Regions from separate parts of the Homo sapiens genome. Here regions 1 and 2 are each linked to region 3. Evidence: promoter capture Hi-C in 16 types of primary human blood cells and fetal thymus (Javierre and others, 2016). All regions are on one chromosome and are shown on one strand. The core of a region is centred on a gene start or on the middle of the fragment in contact, and the rest is flanking DNA. Distances in the headings are between cores, read along the strand shown.

Evidence for each region. The method cuts DNA at HindIII sites, captures the fragments that hold promoters and counts their contacts. A CHiCAGO score of 5 or more calls a contact.
Region 1: a fragment that was not itself captured here is called in contact with the fragment with the promoter of BCAR3-AS1 in region 3 in 2 of 17 cell types (erythroblasts and megakaryocytes); the score reaches 5.0 in erythroblasts.
Region 2: a contact is called between a fragment that was not itself captured here and the fragment with the promoter of BCAR3-AS1 in region 3, in 2 of 17 cell types (M1 macrophages and monocytes). The highest score is 6.0, in M1 macrophages.

The regions. Positions count from the first base shown.
Region 1 is chr1:93,303,374-93,308,185 of GRCh38, reverse strand. No RefSeq gene overlaps it. Among named protein-coding and RNA genes, the nearest start is that of CCDC18-AS1, 40 kb to the left of the region's middle. The HindIII fragment of the contact is 2,968 bases long and covers 1,204-4,171 here.
Region 2 is chr1:93,871,283-93,876,190 of GRCh38, reverse strand. DNTTIP2 (deoxynucleotidyltransferase terminal interacting protein 2) reads left to right here. Exons shown (of 7, transcript NM_014597.5): 3 at 408-546; 4 at 2,977-3,072; 5 at 3,955-4,119. Among named protein-coding and RNA genes, the nearest start is that of DNTTIP2, 5.5 kb to the left of the region's middle. The HindIII fragment of the contact is 7,821 bases long and covers 1-4,908 here.
Region 3 is chr1:93,588,518-93,593,606 of GRCh38, reverse strand. BCAR3-AS1 (BCAR3 antisense RNA 1) reads right to left here and starts at 1,639. Exons shown (of 4, transcript NR_034091.1): 1 at 1,099-1,639. BCAR3 (BCAR3 adaptor protein, NSP family member) reads left to right here. Exons shown (of 12, transcript NM_003567.4): 4 at 1,214-1,342; 5 at 4,188-4,630. RefSeq lists enhancers at 1,277-1,436, 943-1,443, 3,929-4,473, 4,474-5,018. The HindIII fragment of the contact is 15,312 bases long and covers 1-4,130 here.

The sequences.
Region 1 (4,812 bases), core at 1,438-3,937, 290 kb after region 3:
AAGGGTGAGTAAAACACATGAGATCCCTGCCCTTTCATTACATTTAATGAGAAGAGAGACAAAAAAAAAAAGTGGATACTTTCAGATTATGTTAAGTGTTATGAAGAAATAAAACAGGGTAATGGGGCTCAGAATGACTTTGCAGGTGAGAGATAGGTGGCTGGAATATTTTAGATAGAATGGTGAAGGGATCTGAGGAGACAATTTGTACTGACAGCTCTGGGAAGTGAACAAAGAGAAGGAGCCAGCCATGGGAAGAGTTCCAGCCATAGGAAACAATAAGAGCAAAAGCCTGAGACAGAAATGCATTTGACATTAAATGAGAGGGCTGTAAAGCAGGCCTATGTGGCCAGGGTGCAGTGAACAAGGGGAGAGTGGTAGGAAAGCTATGCAGGTCTTAGAGGCTTTGGAAAAGAGCTTCAGTTTTTTTCTAAGAGCGATGGAAAATTATCATAGGGTGTTAAGTAGGGCAGAGATGTGGTTTTGTTTTTAGAAGGCTCTCTGGCTTCTCTAATAGTGGGCAAGAAGATAAACCTGGAAAATAATTAGATGGCCACTGCAGTCATCCAAGCAAGACATGATGACTTGGACTAGGGTGGTAGCTGTCACAGTGGTGAGAAGAGGTTTGATTCAAGTTCTTTTTTACATATGGGGCTGAAAAGACTTGCTGATGGATTGGTTTGAAGGTGGTGAGAGGAAGTACTAGGTGAGTGGGGATGCTTTATTCAAGATGTACAAAACTGGAAAAGGAGAAATTCTGGAAGAAATTCTAGAGAAAAGGAAATTCTGGAAAGACCAATAATTTTTCTCAGTCTTGTTACATTTGAGATGCCTTAAGAAATACAAGTGGAGATGTGAGAAGGCAATTAAATATTCAAGGAGATTAGGGGGGTTGAGTAGAGGAAGAAGTAACCAAGAAGAAACACCAGTGAAATAGGAGGAAAATTGAGAGCATATGGTTACAGAAGCCAACTACAGAATGGATTTTAAATAGGAGGAAATGGTCACCTCTGCCAAATTTAGAGTGGTCAGATAGGAGAGGACTGAAAATTGACATAATCTTTGGCAAGGTCAAAGTCACTGGTGACAGATCTGGTAAATATTATTTCAGCAGATGCAATGAACATATAATTGGAGTGGGTTGAACAGAGAAAGAGAAGTTAGAAAGTAGAGAGAGCAAGTATAGGCAACTCTTGATAAGCTTTACTGTGAAGGCATGCTGAGATAGAGGGCAGAAGCCAGCAAGGATGGAGAGTCTAGAGAGAGTTTAGTCAAGCAAGACAATACTAAGGCATGATGCAGAAAAGAGGACACATAATGGCAGGAGTGAAATCCTCAAATAGGCAGGAGGGCATGGGATCCAGAGCCCTGGAAAGGACAACCTCATTGTGAAAGGAGGGAGAACATGTATTCAGATTCAGGTAGGTTGGTAGATTCGATGGTGGGAAGATATAATTACTGCCTGAGGCTTCTGTTCTTTCAGTGAAGTGTAAATTGAGATCACCAGTTGAGAGTGAGGAAAGATGAAGTGTTGGAGGTTTGAGGAGAGAGGAGATGTGAAATAAATAACTTGGAGAGTCAGAGATAATGTCATATTCATATTTGTATCCCAGCATCCTACCACAGTGCCTGGCACATAGGAGGCACTGAAAAACAGTTTTGAAGAATGACTGAAAGTCAGAATCAGAAAAGAAAGAACAATGATACACACTTAAAACTTACATCTTAATACAAGAATAACATATTTGTAGAATATCTTGGTTTATAAATGTTTTAGCATCTACTTGAATTTACTCAATAAATTCCAGAATACTCGAGGAAGGAGGCATACTTGCAAAAGGTAATTTAAGACAAGATGACCTCTTTACACTTTATTTACAAGAGCACCTTTCTCATTAGGCTGATTTTTTCAAGAGTAAGGAGATGCTGTCTTTTCATCTTAATATTCTCAGGACATGCATTAAATAGTGCCTGGCACAAAATTAAGTGCACAATAATGCTTTTTCGGTTTTTTGTTTGTTTTTGAAACAGGGTCTTGCTCTGTCACCCAGGCAGGAGTACAGTGGTGTGATCACAGTTTACTGCAGCTTCAACCTCCTGGGCTTAAGTGATCCACCCCAGCCTCTCAAGTAGCTGGGACTATAGGCATGTGCTACCATACCCAGCTAATTTTATTTTTTGTAGAGACGGGGTCTCACTATGTTGCCCAGGCTGGTATCAAACTCCTGGGCTCAAGCAATCCTCGTGTATCTCCCAATGTATTAGGATTACAGGTGTGAGCCACCACATGGGCCAGTAATGCTTTTTTGAATAAATAAATGACTATAATCACATGGAGCTTCTAATCTCCAAAGGATTTACAGGCTGAAATAGAAAAGTCTCCAAAAGAATTTAAATACTTCAGGGATGAAAAGCCAAAGTGGATTGATTATAAAGACAAACAGATGCTTTAGGGACATTTTAAGGGAGTCACAATATGCAACCAAACATTTCCACAAAACTTTCTTTGTAACATTGTTTCAAGAATAAAAACCTAAATGATTTTGGGTCTCACTAGCATGGCAATTTTTATATTTGTTTGAGTTTATAGGCTCTTTTGACCTTTTCTCTATAGTAGTAATAGATTTTTGTCCTTTTGCCTAACACTGTGCATTATAGTGAACTACATTCCCAGATACCTTAGAATCACCCATGTTTATCCCTTTCCTCCTCTAGGAGGGCTCTGAGAGATTTCATTTCTGTCCTGCTGATGAAGTCTACGTTCATTCAGGGCCTGCTGTGGAAGACCAGCCCCAAAGGTGTGTTATACTAAGTAGGCAGATTCTATCTCCATCTAATTCCTAAGTTAGGCTTTTCTTACTCCTAGAGTTCTGTATAGCATGGCCTTCTTATTTCTTGTAACATTGCTTTTGGGAATAAAATGTTTGAAGAAAGGAATATAAAGAAGAAAAAATGCTGGGGAATATATAAGGGAAAAAGAACAAAGGTTGAAAAACAGAAACAGAGAAAGGGAGGAAAGATAAATCTGACCACTTTAAAGTCAGTCAGTATACCTACAGACATTCAGTTGAGCAATAAAAGAATGGGATAAACTATGCAACTGAGAAAAAAAATGACAGAGGGGCAGGAAAGACTGGTCATTTTGTCCTGTAATGAAGACCACAGAAGTCATTTTTACGTCAGGGTGAAATAATTGTGGCCATAGCTATCTCTGGTCTCATGTTTATACATCACTACAAATCACAAGTGAGAAATAATATAAACATATTTACTAAGGCTTTACCAAGAACAGTTGGCTTTTCAGATTTAGAAATAGCTCAAAGGGGAAGGAGGTATTACTCAGTCATTATGTGACTGGCACCCTCTAGTGGCTGTTTAGATTTCCTGCATGTGGATCCTAATTGCATTTTGAGGAAAAGACCTTTAGAACAAAAATCCCAATACTCAAGTTATATGTCCTGACATACGGCTTTTTTTCAGTGTGCTTTGGCAGCAAAGCTAAGTTAGAAGTGTAGAAATAGGGGAAGATAGATTATTTGGGTGTAACATACTTTAATTATTGAAAATGAGCTACATCGTTGACAAAATGAAATGGCAGCGAGAGAATAGCAAGAAGTCCATTCAAGGGAAGTTTTTTCTACCCATTTGTCATTGTCTTCATTCAACTCTACAGAATTTCCACATGGGAATTTAACTCTGCAAATGAATCTATATGATGCTATTAATTGATATTTACATATTAATGAATGTACTTGGAAAAATATTATTCAACTAGGAGTCCTTTTCTTACAGTTTATACGTAAAGACCATCCTTTTATTTATGCTAAGATAGCTCTTTGCAGAGCTTGATATTATGTTTTGTGAATTTCCTACTTAATCCAGTGTTAAAAATCTTCGCTTTTATTCTTTACCATTGTCGACCTAAAGGTAGATGCTAAGGCACAAAATATGATTTAAAGAGTTTACTTAAGCTGGGCACAGCTACTCAGGAGGCTGAGGCAGAGGATTGCTTGAACCCAGAAGTTCAAGGCCAGCCTGGGCAACATAGCAAGACCCCATCTCAGGACAAAAAAAAAAAGTTTACTTGAGCCAAGATAAGGACAGTTGTTCTAAAGACTCAGACCCAGTTACCTTGGATATGAGCTCCGTCAGCCTCAGTTACAAGCAAGCTTTCAAAGGAAAAAAAGATAATTAAAAATTATCAGGAGTGGGCTGATAGAAAGTTGTTTGACAGGCCAGGTGTGCTGGCTCATGCCTGTAGTCCCAGCACTTTGGGAGGACGAGGTGGAGGACTTTGAGACCAGCCTGGGAAACACAGTGAGACCCTGTCTGTACAAAAAATAAAAAAATAAGCCAGGCATGGTGGTGGGCACCTGTATCCCCAGCTACTCAGGAGGCTGAGGTGGGAGAATTGCTTGAACCCAGGAGGTTGAGGCTGCAGTGAGCTCAGATTGTGCCACTGCACTCCAGCCTGGGTGACAGAGACCCTGTCTCAAAAAATAATAATTTAAAAAAAAGTTGTTTGACAGGAATTCTCATTGGTTTACAGAGATAACATTAAGTGTTTGACTGTACATTGTTGAACGATACGATATGAGTTCTGGTGTCCAGCTGTAGCATTTCATGGCTTCTTGGTGTCAGCCTCGGGCCCACGTAGCAGGTGGCATCAAGAGACAATTATTTGGCCAAGTGCAGTGGCTCACACCTATAATCCCAGCACTTTGGGAGGCCAAGCAGATGGATCACTTGAGGCCAGGAGTTTGAGACTGGCCTGGCCAATATGGCAAAACTCTGCCTCTACTAAAAATATAA
Region 2 (4,908 bases), core at 138-2,637, 280 kb before region 3:
TTAGCCTGGGGAATGAGAAAATCACTGCCTTGGGTTCTTCATGGAATGGCTCATTCATTTGACATTATGGAGCCAGGTGTTGGGTGTGCACCTGTAGTCCCAGCCACCCAGGGAGGTTGAGGTAGGAGGATCACTTGAGTCCCAAGAGTTCAAGGCTGCAGTGGTCACTACTGCACTCCATCCTGGGCCAACAGTGAGACCCTGTCTCAAAAAATAAAATAAAATGATGAAAAATATATTTATTTAGAGTTTTTTTTCAGGAATTCCTCATAAAAATAAGATGCTTTTTTTTCTTTATTGTGGACAATACAAGGGAAGAGAAGAATAAGTGATTTTTTAAAATGCCATCTTATATGTTTCCATTTTGATTTAATTACTTGATCTTTAAGTGATGATTTCTTTTTCAGTCTGAAGTTGACAAGCAGCAGCATAGACCCTGGTCTGAGTATCAAGCAGTTGGGTGGTTTGTATATTAATTTTAATGCAGATAAACTACAGTCTAACAAGAGAACCCTAACACAGATCAAGGAGAAAAAGAAAAATGAGGTAAGTTAATTGTGCTGTTAGGTTTTCACAGAACTAACCAATCACTTTTAGAAATTAGTCCTTGGTAAAAGACTTAATTTTCCTACAGTGAAACCACATTGGCCTAATGTGTTAGTTTTTTCCTTCTCTCTAAAACAGTCATTTCTTTTTACAATAAAATCCTATCTATGAATGATAATGCTTTAAAAATAAATCAATACAGGGTCAGTGTTCCTCATCTTACACCCACCAATTATGATCCCAGGGGTTTTGTTTTTTTCCCTTTTCTTGCTATACTTTTAGTTCTTAAGTTCTTAACTAGTGTAGACTGTTGAGAATCTGAAAGCTGTGAATGCCTGCCTGCCTCTTCCACCCGGAAAAAAATGCACATGTGCATATAGACATTTTACATATAATTTCAGAAGGAATTACTGTTAAGGTAACTTTACCCAAACCCTTAGCTTTAGCCAACACCTTGCACTGTTTTCTCCTAAATCTATATTTTCTAGCCTTGATGCTTCTCACTGTCACTTTCAGACCTTTAAATCCAAGTACCTATTTGTTCATTTAGATGTCCTCAGGTACTTGACGTCACTAATTCCCCTTTCCCTGCCTGAACCAGGAATCCTCTTCTTGTATTCTTTTTTCTGGCTAATGAAACCAAACTCTCTTTTCCTTTTGTAGTCAGTCACCAAGCCTCTAGGGGAAGATATTTCTCTGCTTCCTCCTTTTCAAGCGACTGTCACCAGCTAGTGCAGGCCTTTGCTTCTCATCTGGACTACTCCAGTGGCTTCCTTATTGATCTTGTTTTCATCTTGTTCTTCAAGCCATCCTCCACACTTCTAGATTTCTCTGTCTAAAAACACAAATCCGGCTGGGCAAGGTAGCTCACATCTATAATCCCAGCACTTTGGGAGGCTGAGGCAGGAGAATTGTTTAAGCCCAGGAGTTTGAGACCAACCTGGGCAACATAGCTAGACCACATCTCTCCTCCCTGCCCCAAAAAACACACCACACACACAGATGTGACAGTATTCTCTTGAATCCTTCAAAGTACCTCTCTACCCCACCCAGCTGTCATCTGCTCTATTCTTGCCACTGAAGACTACTGTAGTTGCCTGAACTTACCCTGCTTTTCCCCAAGCAAGTGCAAAATAATTGATCGTTGCCCTTGGGGAATATTTTACCTCCAGTCCTTCTCACAACCCCTCTGTTTCCATAACATCTAGCATAGATCTGATTCATTGTTGATCATGTGATATATTAACTTACCATCTTTTCTTTATATTCCTAAAACAGGGTTTTTCAGTCTCAGCACTACTGATGTTTTGGGCTGCATAATTTTGTTGTGAGATGTTCCGTGCATAGTAGGATGTTTAACAGCATCCCTATCTTTTGCCCACTAGATGTCAGTAGCATTCTTCCTTATCCTCACCACCACCAAAAATGTCTCCAGACATTGCCAGATGCTCCCAGTTGAGAACCACTGTCCTTGAATGTACTACAGTACTTGACTCACAGCAAACTCTTAATCATTTGTTAAGTAAATATCATGCCCCCTTTTATGAGTGATAGGAAAGCCTAGACGGCTACCTATACCACACAGAAACATCTAGGCCTGAACCTGAATTGTGTGCCTGACTGTTAATTTCTGAGTTGATCATTTCAAATGTCAGTCCCAAATTAATGCTTGTACTATATTCCTGTAAACTATTTTGAGGGCTACAGAGCAGTCTTACTTGGTTCTTGTACTGAGAAAAATACTAATTAACCTGAGGTTCCTTTAGTCACACAGAGTTTTAGGAGAATATAATCATCCTAGTCAAGTAACAAAAGTACAGAAATCATTTAGGAAAAGATAAACAGATTTGACTGCACAAATTTATTTATTTATTTTGGAGAAATGGCGTTTTCTTATGTTACCCAGGCTAGTCTTGAACTCCTGGCCTCAAGTGATTGTCCTGCCTTGGCCTCCTAAAGAGTTGGGATTATAGGCATGAGCCATCGTGCCTGGCCTTTTTTTTCTTTTTTCTTTTTTTTTTTGGGAGGGAGCTGGGTTTGGGGGGAGACAGGGTCTCACTCTGTCACCCAGGCTGGAGTGAGTGGCACAGTCATAGCTTGCTGCAGCCTCAAGCTCCTGGCCTCAAGTGATCCTTCTGCCTTAGCGTCCTGAGTAGCTGGGACTACAGGTGTGTGCCACCATGCCCAACTAATTTCTTTTCTTTTTTTTTTTTTTTTTACAGTCAGGGTCTTGCTATGTTGACCAAGGTGGTCTAAAACTCCTGGCCTCAAGTGATCCTCCTCCCTTGGCCTCCTCAAAGCACTAGGATTATAGGTGTGAGCCACTTTGCCAGGCTGACTAAAAATTTTAAAACTTACAGAAGTTTAAACTGTTGAAAAACTTATATAACATTCTGACATTATTTTAAAACCAATTTTATGTTTTTATAGCTTCTGCAGAAAGCCGTCATTACACCTGATTTTGAAAAAAACCACTGTGTTCCACCATATAGTGAATCAAAGTATCAACTTCAGAAAAAACGCAGAGTAAGTACAGTGACTTAATTAAAATGCTTAGATATGTTTGGCTATATATTTTCAGCTTATACAACATAACTGCACAATTAAACTGTATCTGTTGGTCTATATATGAGTCCAAAGAAAATAATTACAGATTTCTAAGGGCTGTAAAATATAGTACCATAAACACATTATGTATAGATTTTCACATCTTTGCAGCCACAATAGTGCATCTATAAGTAGAGGTTTTTTAAAAAAATATATATATATATAGATTACTTCTATCTGCCATTTCGACTAGTTATCCAGAGAGCTTGAAGGAAAGTTGAGGATGGTATTCTAGTAATGTTACTGTAATATGGAGCACCCTGGCACATGGTAGGCACTAACTAAATACTTGTTGTATGAATGAAACAAAATTAAATAACTTGTAGGAGTTTTCTAAAGAATAGTATTTTGTTTTATTGTAGAAATAACACAAGGTTCTGGATCCTTGTATGAGTGGCATTCTGAGACTCCTGGGTGACTGAATAAAAATGTTTACATATAAGCTCTAGAAACGAAAGTGTTTTTATACATTTTCTTACTGCATATAGTCTGTTTTAGACAATAAAAATTGAAGTTGTGTGTTATTCTCCCAGCAAGTCAGCAGTTACTCTCTGAGACAGAAAATAGATTTTACGGAGCCCTCATTTATGAAACTGATAATCCTGTCCCTAATTTAGCGGAGAAGTCACTTTTTGTGATTTAATTCCTTTTATCTCTATGATTCTGGATTTAAGTGCTTTCAATAAAGTAACCATTTGTTTTTAATTTACAAAATTTTCTGTATGTGTTACTTCAGGGGAAATGAATTATAATGTATACTCTTAGCTGTTAGAATGTTTATTTTTGAAATCATAATTTCAGAAAGAACGACAAAAAACAGCAGGGGATGGCTGGTTTGGTATGAAAGCTCCAGAAATGACAAATGAACTGAAAAATGATCTCAAAGCACTGAAGATGAGAGCCAGCATGGACCCGAAAAGATTTTACAAGAAAAATGATAGAGATGGCTTCCCCAAGTACTTCCAGGTATGAAGCAAACAGAATAGTGGTGATGATCTGTGAATTTTAGTTTGGAAAGCACTGTAGTGTTCTTTAAAGTTTACTCCTAAAATAGAGGATATTTCCATTGTGCATGCCTAATGTATGGAACATATCTGCATAGGCCATATAAGAATGGCCATTACCCAATTCAGCCACTAACTTTTAATTTGATCACATTTAGAGAGATGGTGTTACAAATGGTTTCCAGGTCAGCTAAAACCTGTTGAACCTATAAAGTTCACTATGTGAATGTATGAATAGTATCAGCCTAACAGCAAGAGTCCATACGGGATAGGGGTAAAAGGGTATCACGTGTACTAATCCAAGTTGGTTTTTAAAATGTTTTCATCTGTTCGTGTTACACCTCTGCTCAGAAACATTCAGTGATGAATTATGACATAGGATTGGGTCTGTATCCTTTCATTTAGCCATTAATAATCCATACCCAAACTAGTTCACCTGCCTTTCATCATATAGCCCAACAAATTCCAACACACTTAGCTACTCAGTCTTGTCAGAACACGTACATACCAGTCCCTGCATAATTTGACTTTGCATATCCATAGTTCTTGTTTGTTTGGTGAAATTTTACCCATACAAATTCAAGCTAAATTGTCATTCTTTGTTAAATCTTCCTTACCTCTCTTAGGTACAATTGGTCACTTTGTCTTCAGAGCGTCTATAGTGTTTTGTTCAGCACATGTTATGCTTTAATATTTTAGTTACTTTTTGTGGAGCTTCCTTAAGACTGCAGGCTCTGCACTGCAGGAACCA
Region 3 (5,089 bases), core at 390-2,889:
GCCCAGGAGTTTGAGACCAGCCTGGGCAACATGGCAAAACCCTATCTCTAAAAAAAAAATTACAAAAATTAGCCAGGCATGGTGGCACGTGCCTGTTGTAGTCCTAGCTACCAGGGAGGCTGAGATGGGAGGATCGCTTGAGCCCAGGAGGTTGCTTGAGCCCAGGAGGCCAAGGCTACAGTGAGCTGAGATTGCACCACTGTGCTCTAGCACAGTGAGACCCTGTCTCAAAAAAAATAAAATAAATAAACATTTTTAAAAAGTAGTGTGATAAGTAATAATTTTGTGGCTCCCATGGGGGTTTGAAGGACAAGCTGGGAAACTTGGGAGAACCACAGGGACACAGCCTTTTTCTGTTCATGGGACTTTCAGCAAGCGGTTCCTGGTCAGCATGCCTGGTCTTGCTGGGAACTGGGCAGGTTTCCAGGTTCAGTTCACATGTTGTAAGCAGGCATGGTTCTAAATTAAACCTGGAGCCACCGCTGTCCACCCAGCACTCACTGCCATGGCCACTGTGCAACGCCGCAGACCACTGATTCTCAAACATCTGAGGTGAAGGACCAGGGTTGTCTTTTTAAATTTGTTTCACTTTCCTATCTGTCATAAAAATGAAATATTAGAAATGTGAAATAAAGACAGACTTCTGTTATTAGATTCAAGAGACATAAAATTGCTCTGTCCATTTGCCCTAAAAGTTTCTAAAGACTGACTCAATTCCTGAACATGAGTTTACCAACAGCAAAGAAGTTAGGGCCATCGCTACCAGCCCAAGGACTGTGCTTTGGGCCTCACTGCCCAGAGGCCCAGGATCTAAGGCCAGAAGGGAACAGCTGCCCTCCCCACGCTATGTCAGGACAGTCCTGAAGGAGAATGAGGAAGCTCTCCGCTGGGAAGAGAGCAGGCTGGGCTGCTGTGTCTTGCTGTCTGTACATCTCTCTGGCCCTTCCTGCCCAGCTGCTTGAGTAGACTGGTAAAAGGAACCTCTTGGTGGACTCTCCTACCATAGTCCCCATGTGCAGGTGAAAATTTTATTACATGGTTGCGGCCGGAGAAACGAAAGGTCACAGCTCTTTGTAATCATTATCCAGGCTCCCCTACCTGAATGCAGGCTGTAGCATAACTGGTTGGATTAGTGAAGCAGGCGGTCACCTCCAGCTGGCATGGCCTGGTGTGGCCTGGGCAGGGTGAGCTCATGGTTGACTCTGTGTTGCAGTTCTCCAAGGAGAGGCACATCATGGACAGGACCCCCGAGAAACTGAAGAAGGAGCTGGAGGAGGAGCTGCTCCTGAGCAGCGAGGACCTGCGCAGCCATGCCTGGTACCACGGCCGCATCCCCCGACAGGTACCTGGTCTTGTCCCTTCCAGAGCATACACGGCTGCTCTCAGGCAATGTACAGATTGATGACCCGCAGGGTCCCACTCCGAGGCCACATGGGCGGAAGCACCTGTGTAACCAAAAACAAATACTCTAAAAATGACTTCATTTAGACCCTTCTCTAAGAAGACCTTGGGAAGAGCTGAGGTCAAGAACCCAAAGCACACATCCACATGTTCAGGAAGTGAAGGGACAGCCAGCGCTCCTGGGGTCTGCAAGCACAGCGTTGTGGGAGGCAGCAGCCACAGAGTCAGTAACCGGAAGAACTAGGAGGGCGGGCTGTGGCCCAGGTAATTGAACTCTTGGCCAGCTGCCAGCAGCCTCAGACCATTTGCAGCCCCTCCTTCTCAAGGCAGTGGCTTAGCTTCGGGAGGAGAGAGGGCAGGTGGCCCAGATCAACAAGGCTGCCTCTGCCCCATTGAGCTGGCAGTTATTCACACTCTCCATCACTTCCCTACTGGATCCTGTGACCCAGAGGTGGGAAAAAAGGGGAATTAAACCCATGACCACAGACTCATGGCCCAGAATATACTTTGTGATCGTCATTTGGGTGATTGCCATAAATAATGTTTTTTCATTTAATACTGTAAAAATTGAAAAATAGAGTAAGTCTGCAGAATTGAGGCATAGAATTTCCCTTGGGTTTTTATTGTAAACCTGATCTGGCCAATCATTAACCAAGGACAACATGACAGGAAGTGTGTGGACAGGGGCTGGGGGGAAGGGCATCATGTCGTAAGTTTTTTTTCTTTTTTTTGAGACAGAGTCTTACTCTATCACCCAGGCTGGAGTGCAATAGCACAATCTCAGCTCACTGCAACCTCTACCTCCTGGGTTCAAGCGATTCTCCTGCCTCAGCCTCTCTGGTAGCTGGGATTACAGGTGTCCACCACCATGCCCTGCTAACTTTTATATTTTTAGTAGAGACGGGGTTTCACCATGTTGGCCAGGCTGGTCTCGAACTCCTGCCCTCAAGTGATCCACCCACCTCAGCCTCCCAAAGTGCTGGGATTACAGGCATGAGTCACTGTGCCCAGGCTTTTTTTTTTTTTTTTTTTTTTTTAATGTAGTAGATTTCTTGGCACAATCAAATAAATAATTATTATTCTGACTTTGTTTTTTTAAGTTTAAAATTGATTGTAGAAAACATAGATAGCAAAAAGAAGGAAATTAAACTCTTATCCATAATTCTCCTCATAATTCTCCTGGGGATAACCACGATGAATACTTTTGTGTACATACATCCTCCCGGGCTTTTTGAAATCAAGTATGAGATTGTACTACATATACTTTTTTGGTAGCCCATTCTACTCACTTACTATGTCCTGGGAATTTTCACCCACTGTAGAATATTCTTCTGCACCAGCCTACATTGTATGTCTGTCCACGGTATGCATGCACTACAATTTACTGGACACATAGGGTGTTTCTAATACTCTGACCAATATCCTTTAAGATTGCTGTGTTCATACCTACAATTATTTTCACAGGCTCAATTCTAAGAAGTGGCATTTCTATGTGAAAACATTTTTAAGGCAAAGATGCAATTTTAAAGTAACCATGGTAGCCTACTATTTTGACCTAACAGAAGTATACTGTTGATCAAATGTTGGAATGTTCCAGAAAAATTGTCAGAATTATAAAACCGATACTATCACCACCGTCCGTCTCCTTATCATGGTCATTACATTCGTTTACTACTTGCATGAGTATTAATTTTCAGTGATAAATCGTTCCAAACTGGATAACTGAACACTATAACCATAACCGTAATAACGAGTTATTGCTAACATTTTAGCCCCTTAAATCTTTGTAGCCATTCTATAGGTAATATTATCATTTGTGTTTTTCAGATGATATAAGTGAGCCACAAGGAGATTATGTAATTTGTCCAGAGTCATACAGCTGAGCCAGGATGCAAACCCAGGTGGTCAGGCTACAGGAACAGCCAGGCTGCACCACATTATAAATTCTCCAGTTGCTGTAAGCAGCAGCATCATGCTTGTTAACTATTTTTGAGCATCCACTGTGTTCCAGTGCTTACATATGTTATGTATACAAATACATAACCCTGATAGTAACTGTAAGATGAGGGACCCCAGCCTGACTTTGTTCTAGGCCTTCTAGCCAGTAATTGGTGTGTCCAGAATCTATACCCCAGTCCTGCATGTGGACTCCTCCTCCCCACTGGCCAGGCCTGGAGAGGGGCATCTTAGGAGAGGGCCCCTAGGATGACTTCTAGACACCAACAAATACCCTTCTTTCTCTTCACTCCACTTGTTGGGGAGGGAAAATCAGGCCTGCCAGGCACACATTTTCTCATTTCTTATTTCCTGTTTCATTACATCATTCAGGTCTGTATAAACGTCATGTTCTTGTGACACCTCCCCAACCACCCTATTTTACTGGACAGCCCTCATCCCCTCCCCGGCACTTCCTGCCTCCTTTCCTGGTTTACTTCTTCCCTGACCTTACAGCTGACATACCATAGCCACTGGTTATTTATCCTCACTAAAACAGAAGCTCCCCACCAAAAACAGGAGCTCCATAAGGTGGGCTCTTGTGTGCCACTGTCACCACTGCATCCCCTGAGCCTGCAGTGGTGCTTGGCACGAGTAGGTGGTCAGTGAATAGTTCTTGAATGAATGATTGGCTCTTCTATGAATTTGATCTTTGAAAAACTAAAGAGCTGACCCAAGAAGAGACATAGTAGCATTGTCTTCTGTTGGCCCAGAGAAGTGGGTAGCCATAAGCTTTTAGAAGGAATGTGAATTTGCCTTTCCTACTCCTCACTCACCTTTTTGTCCCAAAGGTGTCTGAAAACCTTGTGCAGCGAGATGGTGACTTCCTAGTTCGTGACTCTCTGTCCAGCCCTGGGAACTTTGTCCTGACCTGTCAGTGGAAGAACCTCGCTCAGCACTTCAAAATCAACCGGACAGTTCTGCGACTCAGCGAGGCCTACAGCCGCGTGCAGTACCAGTTCGAGATGGAGAGCTTCGACTCCATCCCCGGCCTGGTGCGCTGCTACGTGGGCAACCGCCGGCCCATCTCCCAGCAGAGTGGCGCCATCATCTTCCAGCCCATCAACAGGACGGTGCCTCTGCGGTGCCTGGAGGAGCATTATGGCACCTCCCCAGGCCAGGCCCGGGAGGGCAGCCTCACCAAGGGAAGGCCGGATGTGGCCAAGAGGCTGAGCCTCACCATGGGTGGCGTCCAGGCCCGAGAGCAGAATTTGCCCAGGGGAAACCTCCTCAGGTAGGTCAGGGCCTCCTCTGCAGGACTATGAGGGGCGCCGGGGTGCCCAAGGTTAGTTAGGCAGGTGAAGAATTCATCATGGAACAAAGAAATAAAAGATGTTAATAGGAATGCCGACTGTTCGCAGAATAGCTGTCACGAGGCAGTGAACAATTAGCTCCCAGCTGAGCAGTGTCAGCAATGAATGGTACAGGAGCTGAGGAAGAATTTCGGGGGGTGCTGATGGGGATACCTTGTGAAGGGGGTAGACTTAGGCTGGTCTGATGGCTGGGGGAAATTTGGATAGATGCTGCAAAGGGCTGGGGGTGTTCCAGGTGGGAGGCATAGCATGGGCATAAGTGTGGGGACAGAAAATGGTATGAAGAGCTTGAAGTGAATGTGCTGGTAGGGCTGGAACAAAGGGTCTGTGCAAGGGACCCGTAGCAGTGGGCTTAGGGAGATAGCCCCAGCCAGATCATG